Linked DNA regions of Homo sapiens: all the other regions are linked to region 3. Evidence: promoter capture Hi-C in 16 types of primary human blood cells and fetal thymus (Javierre and others, 2016). All regions are on one chromosome and are shown on one strand. The core of a region is centred on a gene start or on the middle of the fragment in contact, and the rest is flanking DNA. Distances in the headings are between cores, read along the strand shown. Region 1 holds the start of PDGFB (platelet derived growth factor subunit B). Region 2 holds the start of SYNGR1 (synaptogyrin 1). Region 3 holds the start of CBX6 (chromobox 6).

What was found. Contacts are between HindIII fragments. The CHiCAGO score rates a contact against its expected background, and 5 or more counts as called.
Region 1: a contact is called between the fragment with the promoter of PDGFB here and the fragment with the promoter of CBX6 in region 3, in 1 of 17 cell types (erythroblasts). The highest score is 5.6, in erythroblasts.
Region 2: the fragment with the promoter of SYNGR1 here is called in contact with the fragment with the promoter of CBX6 in region 3 in 7 of 17 cell types (neutrophils, total CD4 T cells, total B cells and 4 more); the score reaches 10.6 in neutrophils.

Annotation. Positions count from the first base shown.
Region 1 is chr22:39,243,732-39,246,679 of GRCh38, reverse strand. It overlaps PDGFB (platelet derived growth factor subunit B), which reads left to right and starts at 1,698. Exons shown (of 7, transcript NM_002608.4): 1 at 1,698-2,779. The coding sequence starts at 2,717. The HindIII fragment of the contact is 5,201 bases long and covers 1-2,948 here.
Region 2 is chr22:39,348,205-39,351,254 of GRCh38, reverse strand. It overlaps SYNGR1 (synaptogyrin 1), which reads right to left and starts at 1,264. Exons shown (of 4, transcript NM_004711.5): 1 at 1,146-1,264. The coding sequence starts at 1,244. RefSeq lists a silencer at 1,058-1,217. The HindIII fragment of the contact is 7,483 bases long and covers 1-3,050 here.
Region 3 is chr22:38,870,966-38,873,850 of GRCh38, reverse strand. CBX6 (chromobox 6) reads left to right here and starts at 1,635. Exons shown (of 5, transcript NM_014292.5): 1 at 1,635-1,729; 2 at 1,906-1,949; 3 at 2,094-2,159; 4 at 2,305-2,371. The coding sequence starts at 1,661. RefSeq lists enhancers at 1-492, 329-878, 879-1,429 and silencers at 1,424-1,683, 1,714-1,863, 1,964-2,013. The HindIII fragment of the contact is 16,779 bases long and covers 704-2,885 here.

The sequences.
Region 1 (2,948 bases), core at 449-2,948, 370 kb before region 3:
CTCATGGGAGCCTCCAGACCACTCCAGGAGCAGGGTAAAAATTCTCTACAACTGCACTGAGGTACAACAAACTGCACACATTTTGTTGTGATGTACGTATACACCCATAAGCCCATCACCACAATCAAAAATGACAAACATTTCCATCACCACTAAAATTTTGCCATGCCTCTCTGTTCTCTCTCACTCCTTCCCATTATAGATTTATTTTTATTTCTTTAGAGATAGGGTCTTGCTCTGTTGCCCAGGCTGGAGTGCAGTGGCACAGTCACAACTCACTGCAGCCTCAAACTCCTGGGCTCAAAACGATCCACAGTCTCCTGAGTAGCTGGGACTACAGGAGCTTGTTACCACACCCAGCTCCAGTTTATAAATTCATCTCCAGTTTATAAAGGAGGAAACCGAGGTACTGAGAGGTTAAAAAACCTTCCTGCAGACACTTGTCCAGCAAGTGGCCACTCCAGGATTTGGACCAAGGTGATGTGTCTTCAGGCTGTGTCTCTGCCACTGTGCCACGCTGCTGGGTGGTAGGCAGCAGTGGGTGGGTGCCTGCAGTGGTCTGTAAAGACCACCTGAGATGTCCTTCCTCCTCTGTTCCACCCTGTCCAGGTCCAAGAAGACAGTCTATGAAGAGAGAGCAGGTGTGACTCTCTCAGTGTGCTCCTCTGTGAGAAGCAGGCTGACATCCCAAAGGGAAGGGCGGATAACAGAGACAGTGCAAGCGGAGGAGATGAGGGTGCCTCAAAGCCGGGAGGCTGGGTGATGCAGGAGCCTGCGTGTCCCGAGGGGGGTGCTGGGCCCAGTGTGAGTACGTGTGACTGTGACTGAGACAGTGTGACTGCTGAAGGCAGGGACACAGCAGCTCCCTGACTGGGGGCAGAAGGCGTTAACTGTGTGAAGGCTGGTTGTGGGTGGGTGGGCTCTGGGCCTCGAACCCGGGGGCTGAGGGAGATAGTAAACAGCAGGGTGACTGACGGGAAGATCATGTTGGTAGCCCTGCGAAGATGCTGCAGGGCTGTGGGGGTTTGTGTGACTTTGCAGTTCAACAAATTCAAATTCAGCCAACGCTGGCAGGGCCTGTTGTGCCAGGCAACCAGCTAGGAGGAGGAGACTCGGACCCAGCTTGCAGCTGAAGGGCGCTGGCTGCCGGGTTCTGTGGGTTCACCTTGCGGTGTCTTCCCTTGCTAACACTGAGTCCTTACAATAGCCCCATCTCCAGGTTGAGGCTAGATGGAGGGGACAGAGGGAAGTGACTTGCCCAAGGTGACCCAAGCTCCCGAGTGCCAGGGCAGGATCTGAATTCAGGCTCTCAGACTGCAGAGCCTGAGTCCCTCCCTGCCATGCCTGTGCCAGGGTGGAAATGTCTGGTCCTGGAGGGGAGCGTGGACTCCTGGCCTTGGCTCTGGAGACATCCCCCTAGACCACGTGGGCTCCTAACCTGTCCATGGTCACTGTGCTGAGGGGCGGGACGGTGGGTCACCCCTAGTTCTTTTTTCCCCAGGGCCAGATTCATGGACTGAAGGGTTGCTCGGCTCTCAGAGACCCCCTAAGCGCCCCGCCCTGGCCCCAAGCCCTCCCCCAGCTCCCGCGTCCCCCCCCTCCTGGCGCTGACTCCGGGCCAGAAGAGGAAAGGCTGTCTCCACCCACCTCTCGCACTCTCCCTTCTCCTTTATAAAGGCCGGAACAGCTGAAAGGGTGGCAACTTCTCCTCCTGCAGCCGGGAGCGGCCTGCCTGCCTCCCTGCGCACCCGCAGCCTCCCCCGCTGCCTCCCTAGGGCTCCCCTCCGGCCGCCAGCGCCCATTTTTCATTCCCTAGATAGAGATACTTTGCGCGCACACACATACATACGCGCGCAAAAAGGAAAAAAAAAAAAAAAAGCCCACCCTCCAGCCTCGCTGCAAAGAGAAAACCGGAGCAGCCGCAGCTCGCAGCTCGCAGCTCGCAGCCCGCAGCCCGCAGAGGACGCCCAGAGCGGCGAGCGGGCGGGCAGACGGACCGACGGACTCGCGCCGCGTCCACCTGTCGGCCGGGCCCAGCCGAGCGCGCAGCGGGCACGCCGCGCGCGCGGAGCAGCCGTGCCCGCCGCCCGGGCCCCGCGCCAGGGCGCACACGCTCCCGCCCCCCTACCCGGCCCGGGCGGGAGTTTGCACCTCTCCCTGCCCGGGTGCTCGAGCTGCCGTTGCAAAGCCAACTTTGGAAAAAGTTTTTTGGGGGAGACTTGGGCCTTGAGGTGCCCAGCTCCGCGCTTTCCGATTTTGGGGGCCTTTCCAGAAAATGTTGCAAAAAAGCTAAGCCGGCGGGCAGAGGAAAACGCCTGTAGCCGGCGAGTGAAGACGAACCATCGACTGCCGTGTTCCTTTTCCTCTTGGAGGTTGGAGTCCCCTGGGCGCCCCCACACGGCTAGACGCCTCGGCTGGTTCGCGACGCAGCCCCCCGGCCGTGGATGCTCACTCGGGCTCGGGATCCGCCCAGGTAGCGGCCTCGGACCCAGGTCCTGCGCCCAGGTCCTCCCCTGCCCCCCAGCGACGGAGCCGGGGCCGGGGGCGGCGGCGCCCGGGGGCCATGCGGGTGAGCCGCGGCTGCAGAGGCCTGAGCGCCTGATCGCCGCGGACCCGAGCCGAGCCCACCCCCCTCCCCAGCCCCCCACCCTGGCCGCGGGGGCGGCGCGCTCGATCTACGCGTCCGGGGCCCCGCGGGGCCGGGCCCGGAGTCGGCATGAATCGCTGCTGGGCGCTCTTCCTGTCTCTCTGCTGCTACCTGCGTCTGGTCAGCGCCGAGGTGAGTTGCCACGGCGGCTGGGGCTGGTTCTTCATTCATTACCTTCGCCCCCCCCTTCTGACCGCCCCCTCCTCTCCCTGCAGTGAACTTTGGACCCTTGCAGCCCGCGAGCCTGACGCCGGGCGCTGGGTGACCTCTTCGGGCTGGGAGCGAGGTCCGGGGGTGACAG
Region 2 (3,050 bases), core at 15-2,514, 480 kb before region 3:
GCTGGCCTTGGGGTAGCCCCTGGGGTCCCTGACAGTCTAGCCCATTCCTAGTCTAAGCCCACAAGGAACGGGCCCCAGGCCTGCAGAGGCCAGAACCTCGAGTGGGAGTTTCTGGGATACAGCCAGCCAAACCCAGGGAGCCCCAGAAACCCCCTCTCCAGACCCCAGCAGGGCTTCTTTCCATGAGGTGCCACTCAAGGCACCTGAACCCCTCCCTCTGTGCTCACTGTCTCTGACCCATCCTCTCCCTGACCACCCGTCTGAACAAGAGCCCACTCAGCCCTCTGCACTGAGGACCCTGCCCCCCAGCTAGGCTGGAGGCCACCCTGGCCTCTTCACTGTGGGAGCAGACCTTTCTCCCAGACACCCGCCTTGGGCATCCAGGTGCATGCTGAGTGGGAGGGGTGTTACCGGTTCATGAAATGTCAGAGCCCAAGGGGGCCTCAAGAAGGCTCCGCCCACCTTGTCTATAAATTGGGAAACTGAGGCATGAGAGAGGAGATGACACTCCCCACCTCGGAATTGAAGTCCTCATTTCTCGAGAACATTTCCTGGGTGGCTCCCAGCCCAAGGTCACGCAGAGAAGGAGAGGCAGTTCCCGGGTGGAAGAGAGGTACTCAGTTCCCGACTCATCGCTCCACACGGGCCGGGCTAGGCAATACGAACCCGGTTCCCGGCCCTCTCCTCCTCCAACGTCCATCGCAGGCGCGGCATGCACCCCACCGAGATGGTCCACGCCCTGATCCACCCCCCAAAAAAGGCCACCTTAAACCCTGGCTCCGTCCCCACGGTCCCCAGTCCGCCCTGGCGGCCGCGCACAATCCGAGCCTTTCGCGGCATAGCCGCGGCCTGGAGGTCACAGCAATCGGGGCGGGAAGGGGGGCGCACGAACCGGGGGCCCCAGGAAACCAGGGCTCCGGGAGCCGGAGCGGCGTCTCCCGCGAGCACCAGGGATCCCGCCCGCCCCGGGCCCGGGAAGGAGGAGCGGCGGCAGCGGGCCCCGCAGGCAGGACAGCTCCTCGCCCGCCGCCGCGCCGCCGCCGGGGGCCCGTTGGGGTCGGGGTCGGGGTCGGTCCGGGCGCGCCGCCTTTGCTCACACCCCCACCACCCCGGCCTGGCAGAGCCGTCGGCCAGTCCGTCCTTACCCAAGACACGACGCGCAGGATGGTGTGCGGCTGCCGGACCAGGGTGTAGGGGTCGAAGGCGCCCCCGGCTTTGCCCGCTCCGTACGCACCCCCTTCCATCGTGGCTGCACCCGCGCGGTGCCCCCCGCTCGGCGCGCGCCGCCGGCCCGTGCGCGTGCGCGGCGCCCCCGCCCCCTCCCCTGCGCGCGCGGCCGGCGGCCCAGGGCTCCCGCGAGGGGGCGTCGTGCGCGGCGGGCGCAGCTCGCGGGGCGCGGGCGGGGGGCTGGGCAGCGCGCGACCTCGGGCGCGGGGGCGCGCGTGCTGCGGCCCGGGGCTCAGGGCGCGCTCGCAGCCAGTGCGGTGACCTCTTTGCAAAGTGTTTGGGGGAGGGCGGTGCGTGCACAGCAAGTGTGGGCCGTGTCCCTGCCCCGCATCCCCGGTCCCCTGCCCCGGTCGCAGCCCCTCTGAGCCGTCGGCTCTGCTGAAACCATCTTCACGCTTGATTTGTTTGGCTGTTTCCTGCCACTTTGTCGGCCCCAAATATAATGAGAGGGCAGGAGCTGTGTTCGTCCTTCTTAGAGGGTGCTTGGTACGCAGTAGGCGCCGCATGAATATTTCTCGAATGAATGAACCACGAGTGAATGACCCTCTCTTACAGCCCTCCAGAGCAGCCCCCACCTCCCAGGACCACCCTTCCCCTGCCTCTTACGATGACGTCATGTGTGTCCCTGTGCCCGCGCACCCTCCCACCCCCAGCCTGGAGGGGCCTGGCACAGAGGCGGCGGCTGAGACTTCCTCTTCCCCATCCCCTCCTACCCCAGAACGTTGCCCCTTTCCTGAATCTAGCAATTAATTACGCAATCATTTGTTCATGGCCTCTTCTGCTGCTAGTCTGTGAGCTCCCGAGGCCCAGGTGTTGTCTAACTTATTCAATGCCTTACCCAAGGGCCTAGCATACAGTAGGTGCTCAGTAAACAGAGCCTAGTCCCCATCACCCCATCACAGCTTGGGCTAGACCTCCAGGTTTCATGGAAACGGAGGCTAGATGGAGGAGTGCTCCCTGCAGGGGAAGGGCCACCTTCCAGGGCTGGCTCTCCTGCTGCCCTGTAGCTCTATGGCCTCTCTATGTCTGCAGTCACCTTCACTGGTTCCAGGAGCAGGTTGGATGAGGATATGGGTGGAGGCTTTTGCTTCTCTGGTATCCTGCCATTCTGTGATGACAGGACACAACATCTGTGTGGAGGAAATGTGTGCTGGGCCTGAGGGTGCTCCTTATAAAAATTACATAGTCAATGTCCATCTTAGGCTCAGCTGATTGTTTAGTCTCTACCAGGCCTTGTGCTAAGGGCTTTACATACATTTTCACATTTAATCCAGCACACTTATAAGGTGTCTACTATGACTATATAAAACTTTTAGAAGAAAGCACAAGAGAAGGCCGGGCGCAGTGGTTCACGCCTGTAATCCCAGCACCTTGGGAGGCCAAGGTGGATGGATCACAAGGTCAAGTGATTGAGACCATCCTGGCCAACATGGTGAACCCGGTCTCTACTAAAAATACAAAAATTAGCCGGGCGTGGTGGCGAGCTCCTGTAGTCCCAGCTACTTGGGAGGCTGAGGCAGGAGAATCACTTGAACCCAGGAGGTGGAGGTTGCAGTGAGCCGAGATCGCGCCACAGCACTCCAGCCTGGCAACAGAGCGAGACTCCGTCTCAAAAAAAAAAAAAAAAAAAAAAAATCATGAAGAACATGATTCATAAAAGAAACAATTGATAAACTGGACTTTATCAAAATTAAGAACTTCTGTTCTTTAAAAGACATTGTTAAAAGAATGTATGAAAAGACAAACGATAGTCTGGGAGAAAATATTTGCAAAGCATAGATCTAAAGAACTTGCATCCCAAATAAAGAACGTTCGAACTCAAT
Region 3 (2,885 bases), core at 386-2,885:
GGAACATACTGATTTTAAGTGAGGAGAGGGATTTCTCTCAAGGTAATAATTGGACAAATCTGCTGGGAGAAAAAGACTAACATTTTGCTATGGTGGATTTGAAACCCAAGAATTGGCATTGTAGCACAGAAACGCAAAAATCTTTCCTAATGAGCCATTGATGTTCGCAAGACACAACCCTGACTCTTCACAATCCCCATTCCTCCCCACCCCATCTCAGCCCCAAGGTGGTCACTGGAAGGATGGTGAAATCTGTATTTAATGACACTGAAAGATGTCCACTTTATAGCATTAAGGGAGAAAAGCAGATTCCAGAACAGTGTGAATAGCGTGATCCCATTTTGTTAAAAAATTAAATCTACAGACAATGTGTATGTGTATGTATATACATACATACATAGGTGTACGTGAGTTTATGTACGCATAGAGCAGAGGCTGGAAGATTGGTGAAGATGTTAACAATGGTTTTATGGGGGTTATGGACAGTTGTTTTATCTGTATTTTTAAAATTGTTTTACAAAGAACAAGACTACTAACATAATGGGAAATAAAGTTCAAGTAATTTCAACATTTAAAAAGTGGAGCGTTTTGCGCGGCAGGGCTATTTTTTGTGTGTCCGTTCCTGGACAGCCCCAGCTCGATCCCCCGCCCCTCCTCAAGTGGGAAGCTGGGATCTGGGCTCCCCAGAGCAATGGCGGAAGCTTCGCGCAGCTGCGGGCGGGGAGAGGGACGCGGCCAGGTCGGGGGGCCGGGAGGGGTGCTGGGAATCGGAAAACACAGATATGACCGCGAAGGCGGTTTCTGCCGAATGACCAGATGATGACCCGCTGTGGGCCCAAGGCGGAGTGCGGGGAGCCCGTTCCTGCCCGCGGTCCCTCTCCCTCCCCCACTGCCACACCGGCCCCGCCGAATCCTCCCCGGTCTCCTGGGCGAGGACAGGTGCCGCCCGAGACCCCGGCCGCAGACAGATGCCCACGGTCACTCCGGCCTTCCTCGGCCCCATTCGCCGCACACCCCCTTCCTGCGGTGGCGTTTTTGTTTTAACTCTTCTGAACTGGTTACAAAACCACCCTCCCACGAATACATAAATAATGGGTGGGGGGCGATGTTTTAAAGAAATTCCCGCAAGGCCTGGCAAGGCAACAGCAACTGCATTTCTGCTGCATCATATTTAACTGTTTGCAGGCTGCTGCGGGAGATGCGCGGTGGCGGCGAGACTCGGGCTCCACAGCCCTTCTCCGCCCGGGGCCTGGCGAGACTCGCGTGGGGATTAAGAGGCAAGGAGAGGGTGTCAGCGATCGGGCGCCGGCAAGATGTGAGGGGGGGTGATAAGCGTAAGGCCGCAGCGTGCCCACAAGCCGGGCACCCATCGGGTCGGCCGGCAATTGCTCCCTCCGCCCGCGCGGCCCCTTTAAGAGCCAGCGCGCGCCCCCGCCCCGCGAGCGCCGACTTTCCCTAGCAACCGCCCCGGGGGAGGGGGAGGTCCTGGCAACCGCGCGCCAGCCGCGAGGATCACGTGACGGCCCGCAGCTGGAACGCGAGCGCGCGCCCCGCCGCGCTCCCGCCCGCCGGGGCCTGGGCGCTGCGGCGCGTGCGCGAGCGGTGCCGCACCGGCCGCGGGCGCAGGGAGTATTATGGGCTGTGGGTGCCGCTGAGCAAGATGGAGCTGTCTGCAGTGGGCGAGCGGGTCTTCGCGGCCGAATCCATCATCAAACGGCGGATCCGAAAGGTGAGCCGCCGCCCGGGGCGGGCCGCCGCTGTCCGCAGCCGGGGCCGGGGCCGGGGGCCCTCGGGGCGAAGCGGTCCCGCTAGCCCGGCTCCCTCGCCCAGCCCCGCGCCGCCGCCTCCTCGCGTCCCCGCATCCTCCCCACCCCCACCCCCGTTTTTCTCCCCTCTGTTTTTCAGGGACGCATCGAGTACCTGGTGAAATGGAAGGGGTGGGCGATCAAGTGAGTGTCGCGGGGTCCGGGGGCGTCGCGGGAGGGGAGGCAGCGGGCACCGGGGCCTGGGGTGGGGGTGCGCGCTCTTGCTCTCGCCGCGTGCCTGTCCCTCTCTGGTCTTCATCCTGATTTTGTGCGTTTGTGACTCGGCAGGTACAGCACTTGGGAGCCCGAGGAGAACATCCTGGACTCGCGGCTCATTGCAGCCTTCGAACAAAAGTGAGTTGTTGGGGAAGCTGGCAGGGGCTGCGAGGCCGAGGCTCGGCTGGGGCGCCGCGCGGGGAAGCGGGAGAGCCGGGGAGGGCAGCGCGGAGTGGGGCCCGGGAAGGGGCTCTTTTTAACCTCTGGTGTTTTTCGGCCGCAGGGAGAGGGAGCGTGAGCTGTATGGGCCCAAGAAGAGGGGACCCAAACCCAAAACTTTCCTCCTGAAGGTAACCTGGCCCAGCCCCAGCAGCATCCCCCTCTCGGGCCCCCAGCCCCGGCACAGCACGGGGCCTGGAAGGGAGGGACAGATACGCGGCCGCCCAAGCGGGCCGGCCTTTTCAGAGGGGCCCCAGCTGGGCAGGGGGTGGTTGTGAGCCCCCCCAGAAGCCCCTGATGGCAGGCCTCAGCCAGCATCAGCTTCAACAAGAGGGTTTTGGGACTGGGGATAATCCTCCCTGTTGAAACCAGGGGCTGGGGATGCCTTTAGGGCTCCAGGAAAGGGGGTGGCTGAGGCAGGTGGGGGATGCCCATGGGAAGGGGGCATTTGTTTGAGCTGTTATGACTGTGCTGGGAGTTGGAACCCAGGGGGAGAGTGAGTGGGGTCCCACCTCCTGGCAGGGCACAAGGAGAGGATTTGGGGGACCACCTGCCTCCCTGCCCCCAGCTTCCCCCGTTCAGTCTTTCAGGATTTGTTCTTCATGGCTCCCCTCCTTTCTTGGGGATCCAACTTGAATTTGACCT